Linked DNA regions of Homo sapiens: regions 2 and 3 are each linked to region 1. The links are contacts of gene promoters, found by promoter capture Hi-C in human tissues and cell types (Jung and others, 2019). All regions are on one chromosome and are shown on one strand. The core of a region is centred on a gene start or on the middle of the fragment in contact, and the rest is flanking DNA. Distances in the headings are between cores, read along the strand shown. Region 1 holds the start of TBX5 (T-box transcription factor 5). Region 2 overlaps TBX5 (T-box transcription factor 5). Region 3 overlaps LOC105369998 (a long non-coding RNA gene).

The links. The method cuts DNA at HindIII sites, captures the fragments that hold promoters and counts their contacts. A contact is called where the count stands out against the background at its distance.
Region 2: a contact is called between a fragment that was not itself captured here and the fragment with the promoter of TBX5 in region 1, in 1 of the 25 tissues and cell types used here (H1 embryonic stem cells).
Region 3: a fragment that was not itself captured here is called in contact with the fragment with the promoter of TBX5 in region 1 in 2 of the 25 tissues and cell types used here (H1 embryonic stem cells and spleen).

The regions. Positions count from the first base shown.
Region 1 is chr12:114,404,402-114,409,514 of GRCh38, reverse strand. TBX5 (T-box transcription factor 5) reads left to right here and starts at 3,371. Exons shown (of 9, transcript NM_181486.4): 1 at 3,371-3,887. It overlaps TBX5-AS1 (TBX5 antisense RNA 1), which reads right to left and starts at 1,320. Exons shown (of 3, transcript NR_038440.1): 1 at 1,230-1,320; 2 at 508-687; 3 at 1-49. RefSeq lists enhancers at 1-223, 2,944-3,444, 3,483-4,169. The HindIII fragment of the contact is 27,288 bases long and covers 1-5,113 here.
Region 2 is chr12:114,358,101-114,363,213 of GRCh38, reverse strand. All of the region lies in intron 8 of TBX5 (T-box transcription factor 5), which reads left to right. Among named protein-coding and RNA genes, the nearest start is that of TBX5, 45 kb to the left of the region's middle. The HindIII fragment of the contact is 3,921 bases long and covers 742-4,662 here.
Region 3 is chr12:114,439,299-114,444,411 of GRCh38, reverse strand. All of the region lies in intron 1 of LOC105369998 (a long non-coding RNA gene), which reads left to right. Among named protein-coding and RNA genes, the nearest start is that of TBX5-AS1, 34 kb to the right of the region's middle. RefSeq lists enhancers at 452-955, 2,904-3,525, 3,526-4,148, 4,772-5,113. The HindIII fragment of the contact is 5,965 bases long and covers 1-5,111 here.

The sequences.
Region 1 (5,113 bases), core at 2,122-4,621:
TTCCGGCCCACCTCGGCTCAGAGGTCAAGTAGGAACTCATCTCGTCGACCTAGGGTTTGGGAGAAGGATTTCGGGTTGCGTTCTTGGCATCTGGGAGCAAACACGAGCCTCGGATTTGGGGACATATCGTTATTAACAGCTTGGGAAACGAAAGCGAAGCTCGGGGCAGCCACTGCAGCCTGGCTGAGAGAAAGGACGCGGGTTGTGCTCTCTGGAAGCAAAGGGGTCTGCGGCCCAGCTGGCCTGGGAGCTTGTGGCCGGCGCTGGAAGCTGCCCGCTCTCCCCGCGGGCCTGACCTTGGCTCCCGCCGCAGCTCTGCCGGCCGACTGCCTCCCTGCACATTTTGCTGCCGTTCCAGTCCTTACAGGACCGGGCCTGGAGCCAGGCCATGCTTCGGAAAGCCCTGGGGGTTGGGGACGCGCAAAACCCAGAATCGAACCCCGAAGCTGGGGGCAAGTCCAGATTCAGACGTCCAGCTCCCTCGGGACCCCTTGGCGGAGAACTTACCCTTCCGGAAGGCCCGACGCTCTCCGGCTCTGTGCTGGGCAGGCCTAGCTCTTCTCTCGGCGCCACCAGGGGCGTCTACGCGGTACGTTTTGCAACTCAACCTAGTGGGTTTCCAGCGGTGCGCAAAAGTTTGCGAGCATCCACCACTGCGCTGCTTAGAAATTGTGCCCATTGATCAGACTAAAAATAATAGTCGTCGTGATTACAAAACAAAATAGAGTGCCTCGTGCCTCGGCGGGCCCTGGTACAATAATTATTCTCTACAGAAACCACCTCTCTCCACTCCCACCCCTACTCCACCACCCACTCGCACCCCGCCCCTGCCGGGCCACTCTGGGACGAATTGCATTCTTGGACCTTTCTCTCCGCAAGGCACATTACGGAGAACTCCCTCTGTCTCGTGTCCCCTCCACGACAACCCAGTAATTATTTCTATGCAAGTCTGCAAGAGGGCACTGAGTTATCGCATCCCAAGCCTAACCAGCTAGAGCGGCGCCTCGGTATTCATTTGCCCAGAGCTCCTCCGCGGGGGATTTAAAAATAATAATAATAATAATAAGGATCCCATGCCTTATGCAAGAGACCTCAGTCCCCCGGAACAACTCGATTTCCTTCCAATAGAGGTCTGAGGTGGACTCCCACCTCCCTTCGTGAAGAGTTCCCTCCTCTCCCCCTTCCTAAGAAAGTCGATCTTGGCTCTATTTGTGTCTTATGTTCATCACCCTCATTCCTCCGGAGAAAGCCGGGTTGGTTTATGTCTTTATTTATTCCCGGGGCCAAGACGTCCGGAACCTGTGGCTGCGCAGACCCGGCACTGATAGGCGAAGACGGAGAGAAATTTACCTCCCGCCGCTGCCCCCCAGCCAAACGTGACAGCGCGCGGGCCGGTTGCGTGACTCGTGACGTCTCCAAGTCCTATAGGTGCAGCGGCTGGTGAGATAGTCGCTATCGCCTGGTTGCCTCTTTATTTTACTGGGGTATGCCTGGTAATAAACAGTAATATTTAATTTGTCGGAGACCACAAACCAACCTTGAGCTGGGAGGTACGTGCTCTTCTTGACAGACGTTGGAAGAAGACCTGGCCTAAAGAGGTCTCTTTTGGTGGTCCTTTTCAAAGTCTTCACCTGAGCCCTGCTCTCCAGCGAGGCGCACTCCTGGCTTTTGCGCTCCAAAGAAGAGGTGGGATAGTTGGAGGTGAGTTTCACCCTGGAGGACTGAGGGGGGAAATAGGTTTCTCTTTGCACTTGGCCCTCCTTGGCTTTTCACCCCGTCTTAGTCTTGCTGAATCTTCTCTTGCTGTGCTGCTACTTCTCATGAACGAAATAAGAATGGCTTCGTGTGTCACCTGGCAAGAATGGATTCTCTCGAAAGGTTTGAAAATCCCTATTTTGCTTGGTGGCCCAGACCATCTGTGCTCAATGAGCTAAGCAAATCTGGCTGGGCTATTACCTGGGAGAGTCCAGATTTTTCCTCTCTGGAGGGGCCTGAAGATTATTTATGGGAATTAATTTTATCCCCAAATCTCTGAGAACTTAAAGGGATTGGGAAGGTCTTTCTGGATTTCCCTTTCCCTCTACTGGAGATGTAGCGGTTCAGCCTTCTTCCGATGCCATGTTTGTTTTTCGTGTCTTCGGCCTAGGGTCGCCTTGCCAGCAAGCCTAAAGGCCTCCAAGCTGACTTGGAGGGTGAGGGTGTTTTCACAAATAAATACATCGCCTGGGCAAAGGGAAAATATCTGTTTGCAAACAAACCTGGAAGGTGGAGTGAGCACCATAGCAAAGGAGGGCTGGCTTTCTCCCCGGTTGCCCCACATTCAGGGTTGGAGATTCTCCACTTTGGCATTTTGCAGCAATGGCCTGGCCTGGGATTTTAGCAGAGCAGTCACAGAGGGTTACACAGCTGCTGACCTCGGGGCATTTCTCCTCCCTCCATCCCTTTCTCCAGACCTTGACTTGCAGGCCCAAGTCTCTTATCAGAACCCTAGAAAAATCAGTATGATGGGGGTACAGGAGGTAAGGATGGGAAACAGAACAGGACTCCTGACATTTACTCCAAGCACCAATATTCGGTGTCCCAATCTGGGTCTGCTCAGACTGAGACCTACTGACTGTGTTTGTGCTTTTATTGACCTCTTCAACTCACCCTAAAAAAAAAAAATACATCTCAGAGAGGGAAAGGGCAAGGAGAGGAGACCAGTGGAGATGAAAACCCTAGCCAGTCCCCAGTGACTGTTTGATTATTTTAATAAAACTGGGCACTGCCTTGTGTACACCTGGAGCAGGGGACGTCTGGTGGCCCCACTGGGTGGGGGGTGAGGGCCCGCAGCGATTTCTTAGCATCTTTGATCTCGGCCCCCATCCCAATGCACCTTCACCCTGCCTTCACCCCAGAGTCGTTGAGAGTAGGGGTGATGAGTAGGGGGTGGAGGGGAGATGTCAGGAAGGCGAGCGCCGGCCAGGCGGGGTCAGGCAGCTCTCCTTCTCGAGGTCAGCGTTGGAGAGAATGTCTGCAAGGCTGCGGAGGCCCGCGGTGTGTTTGTGTGTGTGCGTCCAGACTCGGTTCTCTGCACCGCCAGCGTCACTGAGATTACTTCCCGATTAGAAGCCGACCGCGTTTGAAATGATTTGTGCAGGAGTTTTTGCAGCCACCGCTTGCTCAGAGAAGCAGAGATGGATGGAGGTTGGGAAAGGGGTAGAGAGGAGGGAGTTATTGCAGGTCTGTGTTGAGAGTCGTATTGTGATTTGAGTGTTCGGGAAATCTAGTGGAAATTTGGGGTGGGGGGAAGGGAGGACGGGAGGGTGGGAGGGAGAGAGAAGGGGGAGGGCGACAGAGTGCAGTGGGAGCTAGTTGGATAGGCGATTTCAGTACTTTGTGAGCATCGAGGCAACCCAACGTCACTGTGCTCAGCTGAGTTGGCTTGTATTTCAGAGAGAGAGAGAGAGGGAGAGAGAGTGAGAGAGACTGACTCTTACCTCGAATCCGGGAACTTTAATCCTGAAAGCTGCGCTCAGAAAGGACTTCGACCATTCACTGGGCTTCCAACTTTCCCTCCCTGGGGGTGTAAAGGAGGAGCGGGGCACTGAGATTATATGGTTGCCGGTGCTCTTGGAGGCTATTTTGTGTTCTTTGGCGCTTGCCAACTGGGAAGTATTTAGGGAGAGCAAGCGCACAGCAGAGGAGGTGTGTGTTGGAGGTGGGCAGTCGCCGCGGAGGCTCCAGCGGTAGGTGCGCCCTAGTAGGCAGCAGTAGCCGCTATTCTGGGTAAGCAGTAAACCCCGCATAAACCCCGGAGCCACCATGCCTGCTCCCCCGCCTCACCGCCGGCTTCCCTGCTAGGAGCAGCAGAGGATGTGGTGAATGCACCGGCTTCACCGAACGAGGTAACCGTCCCGGCAGATGGCCCGGGAGGCTCAGGAGGGAGCTCGTCGGCCGAGTCGGCTGGGGCGGCGGGAATGGCGGATTCCAGCCCGGCTTTGCATTCTGCAGAGCACAGCTTGCAGAGATTTTGCGCGGCTCGGAGCTCCCCGGCAAATGGAGTCTGGGAGGCCGCCGCGGCTGGCGGAGCGGCATTGAGGTTTGCAGAAGCACGGCCTGGTTCTGTCAAACCGCATCTTGTTCGCCTCCGCCAGCCCAGAGCTCCCCGGGACCCTGGCGAGGGCGCGGGGTAGGATTCTCCCCGCGGCCGGCAGTGAATGGGAGCGCGTGTAGGGGCGCCAGCCCTGCTTTCTTTTGTTGTGAGTAGGCAGCGGGGCTCCAGTCGCCGCCTCCCTGAAGCCCCGAGAACGAGGCGAAGAAAGCTGCTTGCAAGTCAGGCCTCAGAAGCTGTCCTTCTCCTCGGCCCCATTTCTAGATCTCTGGCCACAGCAGGTCAGGGTGGGATCTGGCCGCTTGCTTAAGCAGCTGCTGAGGTTTTGGGGGACCATCGCTTGTGCCCGCTTCCCAAAGTCTTCCCGTTCTAGGGGGAATTCCTACTTGCGTATAGAAGAGATTGGAAGGAGATCAGAGAGCAGGAGACAGGCTCATCGGGCTTGAACAGCTCTGCGGCAGTTATTTTGTGTGTTCTAAGCTCATACGCCTGCAAACCCGGGCCGTTCTATGCATTGCGGGGACCCGGGCTGCAGATTCAATGTCTCCAGCCTAGGACTTATCCGAGAATGATTTTGTCCTCGCCAATCCTGAGCCTGAGCCTGCAGTTTTAGCAGGCCAGGCCTGGCTGAAGTTCAGAGAAACCCCTTTCGGCCTGGTCACTCCACAAAATGCCCGCCATCCCCCGCCCGGCATCAGAGCGCTGGTGGCGGGCACCCAGTGACGAGCCTTCCTCGGAACGGCTGCACGGTGACTTTCTTCATCTAGTCTTCTGTTTGGCTACTTTTTATCTTTTAACGAATCTTACTTAAGGTTGGGATAAAGAAAAGGATGTTTAATTTTAAAGGACTTTTAATGTTAAGGCCTGTAACTGGTAAAAGGTGTATATGAATTCTCTTTTGAACCTAGTCTCAATCTGCACAACCTTCCCCTTCTGTGTTTTTCTTTTTGCAAGAGGCGGGTTATTTCACACATTTCTGCCTGCTGCAGAAAACTATTCCTCTTGTGAGGTTTAATAAAA
Region 2 (5,113 bases), core at 1,453-3,952, 46 kb after region 1:
GCAAGTTGTTTTACCTTTCTGGGCCTCAACTATCTTTTGTGCAAAATGAGGATAACAATAGCACCTGCTTGATACGGTTGTGATGAGGGGAAATGAGATCATCCACAGAAAGCACCTAGAACAGTGTCTGGCACCTACAAGTGCTCAATGAACATGTGCTTGCCACAGGCCTGCCCTTGTGAAGCTCATACGGTTGCAAGCAGGTTGGACATTATACAAGTAATTATAAATTGCTTAATTGAAATTGTGAAGCCTGGCACTGTGGCTCACACCTGTAATCTCAGCATTTTGGGAGGCTGAGGCTGGAGGATTGCTTGAGTCCAAGAGTTGGGACTAGCCTGGGCAACATAGTAAGACTCCATCTCTACAAAAAATAAAAAATTAGTCTGGCATGTTGGCACATGCCAGTGGTCCTAGCCAACCCAGGAGGCTGAGATGGGAGGATTGCTTGAGCCCAGGAGTTCGAGGCTGCAGTGAGCTGTGATTGCACCACTGCACTCCAGCCTGTGTGACAGAGAGAGACCCTGTCTCAAAAAATAAATAAATAAAATAAAATAAATGATTGAATGCTATAAAGGAGATATGCAAAGTGTTAAGGAATATCAAACTGGAGTGTCAGTCTAGGGTAGGCAATCAGGGAAGCATTGAGGCTGAGATCAGAGGAGACTGAGTGCTGGATAGGAGAAGGGGGAGGTGTGAGGGTATCCACACATAGAGGAAAGCATGCATGAAGCCCCTTGGCTGAGGGAGAGCCTGCCCCCTGGGGAGTGAACAGAAGGCTGAGATGTTGGCACTCAAGGCAAGGGCAAAGTGGTGGGGGATGAGGGCTAGAGGGGAAGGCAGGGACCAGTGAGATGCCAGCCTGTATAAGCCATTTTAATGAAAGATGTCAGATTTTATCCTACCACCAGTGCACGTCCATTGGAGGGATTTAAATTTGTGAGTAACATGCCTAAGTTCTTTATTTGGAAGCAGTCACTGTGCTATGATAGCACAGGACTATTTAGTTGGCACCAGAGACCCATTGAAAGGCTGTCATGGGGTCTGAAACAGGAGATGGTGGCTCCGACCAGGGTGTGGGGAGAAGCTGGAGATGTGGGTGGAATCAGGCCTTAGTGGCTGGTTGGCGATAACAAGGTGAAGAATTACCCCACTTCTTTGTGGATTTGGAAACCAACACTGAGGAACTTACCCAAAGTCACTCAGCTCGTGAGTGGCCCAGCTTGAGATGTATACTGAGGCCTGTGGGCTCAGGGTGAATGGGGTATGCACCCTGGAGAAATCCTTTCACCTTTCCAGAAACTCTGCCCTTCTCACCTCCCTCCACCCCCAAAAGGGAGCTCCCAGTGACAGGGAACATTCCAACCGAGGGCTCTCTGTCCTGCCTAGGAGACAACAAATAGCAATTCATCATCAGCCTCCACACTGTAAAGTGATAAGGAATCAGCCGAGGTTTCCTTCCAGTTGGGATTCTCATTAAGTGATAACTCCATGGGTGGTTTTCCCCCTGGCCCCTGCCTGCCCCACTATCTGACTTCCCCTCATTGTCTGTCTCCTTTCCAATGAGCCCAGGAGTCAGGCCCAATGAAATGTCACAGGGCCAGGCAGGCCGGAGGGCTCCTTGTGTTTGGAACCGGCTGTCTCCAAACTATCTCTCCCGATGGACTGAGCCAAAAAAGCTGGGAAGGTCTTTTATCAATGCCACTCAATCAAATCCAGGACCCCAGGGCCTGGGAGAGCACTTGTCTGTCTTTCTCCCTCTCACCCCTGACTCTCACCCCCACTCGCATTAGAAACTAAAAGCAACCCAAATAAAGATTCTAGCAAAGCCATGAGCTGAATCAGATATTCAAAGGAAAGTTAGAGATTGAGAGGGGAAGGGGAATTCGATATGGAAAAGGGCTTTGCAGGGTGCATTTTCTGAGTGCTATGTTTTAAAATGCGATTTCACATCCATTCCTTTGCTGATTCTCCAGTTCCCTGCAGCAGTCTTTGGACTAGGGGAGATGCCACCCATCTCTATTTTGCAGGGATCTAATGGAGGACCAAGAGACAGGGTTAGATTTTAAGCTTATGTGGCTGATGATTGGCAGATCTGGGATGGATGCATCAGATTAATCTTTATTTATTGAGCACTTAATGTATAATGGACACTGTGCTAGGTGCTTGGGATAAGTGGAGGACATGGTGGAAAAGGCTCCCGCTCTCAAGAAACTTGAATTCTTACTGGATGAGACATATAATAAGCCAGTAAGTAAATTTATTGGTTTCAGGTAGTGACTAGGTGATGTTTCAAACTGAGTCTTTTGATTTCTCGTTGAGAATCTTCGCACAATACCATTCCAACCCTTCCTACTTTATGCTAAGAGCATGGGGACACCAAAAACAAATAACAACAACAACAAAAACAACAACAACAAAAAGTCATCCACCCACTCATCCACCCACCCACCAATCCATCCACCCACCATTCACCCATCCACCCACCCATCCACCCACTCACTCATTCATCCATCCACCCATCCATCACTCATCTATCTATCCACTCACTCATCCATCCACCCACTCATCCATCTACCCACTCATCCATCCAGCCATCACCCCACCTATCCACTTATCCATCCACCCACTTATCCATCCCCCCACCCATCTATCAACCCATCCATCCACCTACCCAACCACTCACTCATCCATCAACCCACCCATCCATTCACCCATCTACCCACCCACCCATCCATGCATCCATCCACCCATCCAACCACCCATCCATCCACCCACTCATCCACCAATCCTCCCACTCATTCATTCATCCATCCATCCACCCACCCACCCACCCATACATCTATCCTCCCATCCATCCATCTACTCATCCACCCACTCATCCATAAGAGTCAAGGTTTGCTACCTTTTCATGTTGGCTGAGCATGTAGGGTTGCGTGAAATGGAAAGCCTGGGGCCATCTGTCAGAATGAGCACTGCTTTGTGAGTCAGAAGACCTGAATTATAGCCACCTTCCCAACTTGCTGAAGGTCACTCAGCTAGAAAGATTACTACTCTGAGTTTCAGGGTCTCTGTCTGGGAAGACTCGCCAATGGTTCTTCATCTGAATGAACTGAATTGGCAAGAGAAATGACCCATTTGGGAATAGTGAAAATATTTGCTCAATAGGATTAGTATTTAAAAGCACTCTGTGAGCTTTCCAGCTCTGTAATCTACCCAAATACTATTAAGTATGGGACAACTTTCAGAAAGCTATCTATCCAGTCTTCCAAAAGAGAAAGAGGGAAAAGAGAATGGACCCAGGTCATTTGGACAGACAAGATTTGAATGCTTTATGTGCAAGGAAGATAAAAACTCAACTGCCCTCATTATTACCTCAATTAAATCTCATAAAAAGTTCAGGTATTATCTCCATTTACAATCAAGAACTGAGATTGGAATGACCTGGTGATTCATCCAGTCACATGGCGAGCGAGCATTGGAGCTGTAACTCTGTGCCTTAATATCTGTGCCTTGGATGCATTACTAAATTCACTTTATCCGGAATCAAAAATATCTAGAAAAATCCAAAGTACTAGGGTTTTCTACAGTGCCATGCCATAATGAGTGGTCAGAATCAGGAAGAATTTACTGTTACCTAAGAGACTCATTTCGGTTTAGGATAGTTGCAATATAACTGACCACTCTTAATATGCAACTTTCTGAAGCCGAGTTGTGGACTCATCTCATCAGAAGACTTGATACTTAAGTATAGCCCATTTACCAACCCTGAAAGTTAATCATGACTTGGCTGGAGATAGGTCTTTGCTGTTGAACAGTTATTGGGCTCTCAAAGAAGAGAAAAAAGAAAGAAACTGAGCCATAACCAAAATAAACACAGAGATTACATCCAGAGCATTTATCATGACTGACCTGAAATTTGGATCCTTGAGTTGGAATTTCTTTACAATGTGATGAGGCCTGAGAGGAATTTGAGAATGTTCAGGACCTGCTTTCATCAATAAGCCAAGATTGAGTTTTTCTTAGTGCTCTGCATTAGATCTTTGGGGTATTAAAGACTGGAATGTATAATTTTACGATTTTCCAAAATGTGTTCCGGCCGTTTTCTTATTATTCTTCCTTTTTTACTTGTAACAAATCTGGAAGGGGATCAGAAACTTGAAAATAGTTAGTTTGCCTTGTTTTTTTTTCCTCTTGCTAAGGGTGCCCTGCAGCTGTACTTTCTATTATTGAAAAGGGTAACACCCTGGTTAATTGGAAAACCCAAAGGTTATGATTCCAGCAACAATGGAAACACTCAGGTTTATGAATCTGGGGGAAGGAAGGAAGAATTGAAGGAAAGGAATCAAGGGAGGAGGTGGTGAGGACAAAAAGAAGCTGAGTATAGCAATGTCTTCAAGCCTCCAAACAAACAAACAAACAAACAAACAAACAAAAAAAACCCCGCACAGTTAAAAGGTGAAAAATGTGGCCGTTCATTCATCTGGATGTTTTCAAACATCTGCATGGTTGGCATGATGTAGATAGAACACCTGGAAGAGTGTGTTTTTCTTTTTTTTTTATTTTTGGTACAAATTTTTTTGGTATCCTATAAGTCCCATATGTGGCCCAGAAAGAGTCTAGTGGAAATAAGTTTACTTGCTGTTAAGTGGGCACAACCCTAAGAGATATGTTTTGTTTGTGGATACTTTTGGCTTATCTGTGGGTGTCACTTGGACATTGATACAAATGGAGCTGATTGGTGGAATCCAAACCCAAGCTACTCTACCTGGGTTTGGGAGCTATTTTACAAACCAGTCCAAAGCCAAAGGATTTAGTCTTGAGTCAATGGCTTACTTGTGTCTTTATATCTGAGGACCACCTCTCAGTCACAGAGTGTCAGCCTCCCTCACTTACTGCTCATGGTAGGATAGACTGGGATTGAGGACATGCACCAAAAACGGGATCATGTTCACCACTCTATCTCCAGCACCTGGCACAATACCTAGCACTTTGGAGCAGCTCAGTAATTATCTGCTGTATGATTGCATGAGTGGCACTGGGTATTAGAAATCTAGAGAGTTGGAAGCAAGGTGTGTAGGCAAAGTCAATCCAATCTGGCTTAGATTCCAGC
Region 3 (5,113 bases), core at 880-3,379, 36 kb before region 1:
AATATCCCATTAGTTTCAGGCTCGGTGCTGAGCTCTGGAGGCCCAGCTGTGACCAGGTTGGTCCTGTGCCCCGCGGAGCCCGACGATCAGCGGGAGAGACCGATGCTGAAACCTACAGTATTTCCTTTGATGCCAAATTCTTGCCCGCGCCGCTCCTTAATGCTTCTCTGGTCACAGCTGGGGCGCTGCAGGCTGCAGACAGACCCCTGTCCCCAGGAGGCATACAAACGTGGGGGTTAGGGGAGAACAGGCAAAGGCAGAAGCATTCTCCACCTAGGACGCCTCTGTGGCCGCCGCCGCGCGCCAGCCTGTGACCAGCGGCGCAGCTTCACCCAGGCTGCCGGCTGCCGCTGTCGCCCTTGCGGGGCACACGTCCAGCAAAACATTTCTAAATGTGTCTGGGCCCAATTCCGGAGTGTGAAGCAATCCCTCCGGCCCACGCTGCCGGCGGACCCTTTATGTAGTCGCGTTTCAGCCGCGCAGCGCTCATCAGCGCCACTTATGTCATCGTTTCTGGGTGCGCGCGGGCAAATTTGCTCCGCGCGCGCGCGCCCAGCGACCCCAGCGACCCTCCCCTCCCAGTGGCCTCCACTCTAGCCCTGCAGGGCCCCCAGGGATTTGCTCTGGGGGCTTGGCCAAGAAAAGTGGCCACCGGGACGGGCTGTTCTCTGCCTCCGTGAGTGTGGCCCAGGTGGAAATTCCAGTGAAAACTGAGCATTCTGAATTAAAACAAAACACAGCTAACTTAAACTAACCTAAACTCGTTTAGAGAGGTTTGAATTGGCTGCCTAATTACGGATTCCTCCATCATGAGTCTCTTGAATTACCTAGGCAAAACTGTCAATTATCCAAATGTTATACTGAATTTCCCAGAATTTCCTGGATTTGCCAGGTAGTCAACATCTGCTGTTATGGGGACAACCGTCCAGATTGTATTAGCACAGTGTTCTGCTCTCCAGCTGTGGCTGGATGCCTGCTCACTCTCCTGAATTTTTCTGATACAGTACTTCTGGATTTATTTTTCCCTGGCAAATTCCACAATGCTCCCAAGGTTGTGATGGAGAAGGGAGGGAGAGATGGGTGTGGTGATGAGAGTGGTGGTTACCTTGGCATCTTCTCTGAGCTTCTTGGGCTTCTGAGTATGTTCATGGCTGGAAGAAGAGCTTCAGAGGCAGCCCCACCAGGTTTCCCAAATTAGAGAATTAAAGCAATCTCTCTGGTCATCCACACACTAGATGTCTCAACTTTTCCCAAATTTCCAGATAATTAAGTGTATAAGGGAAATGAGAAGATGGGCCAAAATTTCCACATAATTTTCTAATTTTCTTTCATCTCCATTATGTCACGAGAAGTGTAAATACACCCCTTTTACCTTGAAAGGAGAAAGAAAGAAAGAAAGAGAAAGAAAGAAAGGCAAACAAAACAAATCTCCTGTATTTGTTTGAAACTCTCTTCCTGCATTTAGAGGCTGTGTGTTTGTGTCTGTGTTTGTGTTTGTGTGTGTTGAACCAAGGTCACTGGGCAGCAGAGGAACAGGGCTAGGGTTTGGGACAACCGTGTCAATGTTTTCTATTTAGGAAATGTCTGTTGGATCTCAATCCCAGTGGATCCCATTTTCCCCAGAAAGCACCAATTTCTAACACTTTTGTTTCTTCAGGCCCCTGCATCTTGTAATCTATGACAGACCTCAAGGATAGAGGCTGGTTCTACACTAACAAAGTCCAGTGAATCTGTCCACAAAGTCTCCCCCAACAACTTTGGTATGGGTGGGTGGTGGTGGTGGGAAATATGTGGCTGCCTGGGGCAGGAGTCCACATAATCCAGCTGGACTGGATCTTGATTCCTTTCCCTTCCCTTAATTTCACCAGTGTAGATCTCTGCCTAGAGACAGGGAAGTTTGAGAGAAGATCCAGAAGTCCCTGCTCTGGGAGTTCCTTAAAGGCTGTGGTTGGTTATGGTCTTCCAGTTGTTGGGGATATTTTTGAGGGCACAGAGACTCCTGACTTTTGCAGCTGGAGAGGGGATTAAACACATGTCCAAGCGTGTGCACACCCTCTTCCTCCTCCAGCAGCACACAAAGAGGAGGAAAGGTTGGAATATGTGAAGGATCAGTCCTCAGCCCTGTCATCAGGAAGGCAGCCTGCAGATCTCCAGCTAATTACAATGAGGTCCTGGACCATGATGCTGGTTCTAAAGACTTTAATTGGAGTTCAGGAACACCTCCCCACGGGAGGCAACATCCAGAGATTCTATTGCATCCCAAGGATGTGCCCAACTCCCAAACATTAAGAATATATCCTCATTAGAACCTGTTTCCCACTGGCGGTCCTCCATCAACTCTTCAACTCGAATTAAACTGGGGACACTTCGGAGCGGGTCTGGGTCTGGAAATGCAGCTTTCAGAATCAAGGGCTCTGGAGTCTGAATGCCGAAGCTGAACCTCTTCCCTCACTTGCTAAGTGATGTTGGGAAAGCAATTTAACCTCTCTGAACCTAGCTCTCATCTGTGAACCGTGATAACAGTACTCCCCTCTTAGGGTTGTTAGGAGGAGCCAATGAAGGAGGCAGGAGGAGGGAATGGCTGGATCAAGATTGTTCTGTAGTAGAACTGGAGGCCTGTCCATACTGGGTCCTCAGCCAACAGGTTGCAGCATGCACGCTGGTAGCGGCTCCTCTCAGCCAGATGGTGAGAATGTAATAAAATAAATATATATTGTTGGGCTATTCCAGAAACAGCAATGTGTGGCGTAGGAAAGCTTCGTGTCGAGCTATGTTGGTGGATGTCTGCTTTTCACTCCTAGGCCAGTCCTCAGGCTGTGGGTTCCAGTCCAAGCCCTGCCCCTTTCTTGCAGGGTGACTCTGTGTAAGTGCCTTCCCCTCTCTGGGCCTGGAGTAGGCAGTGCTGGAAATGACTCCTACCTGCAGGGTCATTGTGCGAATGAAATAAACGAGTAGGTGCGTGGCACGTGGTAGTGAGACTGAAAGATACAGTATCACAGCACGTCGTAACAAACACATAAGCACAGCCTAACACAATATACACATCCTAATGGGAGGTAAACGTGGTATAATATCCGATATTACGATGTGTTATATTGTATTATAATTCTAGGCGCACGTGAGCGTGCTGTAAGAGACAGACTGCGTTAGCCAGGACGTGCTTCGCCATTTTAGTGCCCGTGGGGGACGCAAGGTCTTACCGACTGGGGTTTTGAAGCGCGGGTGAGCGCTTGGCAAAACGCAACATCTTTCTCCCGGCAGCGCTGCTCAGTGCCCACTGCTCCCGTCCTGGGAAGATTCTTGCAGGTACCCGGGCACTGGGAAACCCTGGTAGGATCCGGCCGCTCTGTGGCGGCAGCTAGGAGCCCACATGGCACCGAGGAAATCGGGCGTCTGTGGCAATTCCCGACTGAGCGCGGCACAGCGCTGTGCAAACTGATGCAGCAACCTGAACGCGCCGTACCTCACCGAGCACGAAGCTTGGAGGAGGCCGGAGAACCCAGAACACCTAACCCACCCTTCCGCCTTCTGCTTTCCGTGCGGCGCAGGGAGCAGGCGGTTTCCGCAGGGAGAAGGCATGGCTGGAAGAAAAGCACTTTTTGTTTCTCCGCGCTGCTTCCCGGGATTTAGCCAGTGCCGCAGATGCGCGCGCTGACCAACCATCGAGACACGATTCTTTGGAGCCCTTTCTTCTAAAGGCATCGACACATCTACAGAATTGTTTTCAGCGGTGCAATCACTGACACACACACCAAATCCCTTGCACTCGGAACAATTTGCCCGTAGAATTACATGCACATAGAAGTACTTGAGAATTGCAAATCTGTCGGCTCGTGGGCATGGAATTATCTGCACATAGATAATCGTTTGCATATGTTGTTTGCATATGTCGTTTGCATATGTTGTTTGCCACGGATAATTTACGCGTAATTATCTGTAGACAGAAACGTCTTTGCGCACACACATTATTTGCAGGCGCGTTAGCGCGCAGACACTTCATTATATATATGAAAATTAAGGGCACACCCGCGGCTATGCGCTCCGGCACAGCCCGTGGCCCCCACCCGCAGGCGCAGACCTAAGGGTGTAACGATGAGCACTGGGTGTCTTATGTTTCCGGGAAAGTTCTAGAGTTGAAAGGAGAAAACTGTCTGGAGTCCGCGTTCTCTCTTTGTTGTTGGGGTTTGGGTGTTTGTTCTTGTTTTTTGTTTTTATTTTTTGACAGAGGTTGAATTCCCGACAGTTTTCCTGCTAGGAAAGACAGCGGGGACAAAGGCCAGAGGGTCACCCTGCTTGGAATCGAGGTCCGGGAGCAGTCCTTCGAGGGTTAAGGGCAGCGCCATGGGAACAATGAGTACAGAGATCGTGGCGCGGCCTCCTCGCCTCCCCTAGGCCGGAGAAGAGCCAGGTGGGGCCTGGAGGGACCCGCGGCCTGCGTTCAGAGGGCCGGGGGAGCTGTGTTTATTTTCTGGTTATTCTTGGCCGTCTTCCACGCGATTATTTGTAGCAGCTTAGGGAAGTTCAGGGAGAGCTGGGGCCTTAGGGGGTGAGGTGGGGGTTCCTCTGCCAGATCCCATGGATTTTATGGCATCGGAGCTCCAAGGGCAAATTACAGGCGGAATCAAAATGTGTAAATTCCAGTATAATATATAATAATATAATTATATATAAAATATATAATATAATGTAATGTGTAAATTACAGGTTAGTATCGTAAAGAATCCTAAGTCTGGCCGCTCAAGAAAGGCGAGTTGTGGGTTTCCAAGCTGACTCCCAGCCGGGCGCTCGCCAATGCGCCATGGGCGTCTGCGGGCTCAGTCCCCAGGCTTGGGAAGCCGGGGCGCCGGGGCGCTAAGAGGGAGAGCTGAGGCGCAGGCCCAGAGTTCTGTCCCAAAGCGGGTGGCCTCACCAGCAGGAAAGAAAGGGGGCCAGGTTGAGCACCCTGGCTTCGGAGGCTGACAAAAGACCGACAACCTGGAGCTGGAAGCATGGGAATTGGGAACGCTGCTTTTTCTCCCTGGGCCCCGCCGCTGTGGCGGCCTTTTAGCTCGGGCTCGCTAATTAGACTTAATCGAAAGTGCCTTTATACGCCTAGCCAAGAGCTAAAGCTAGT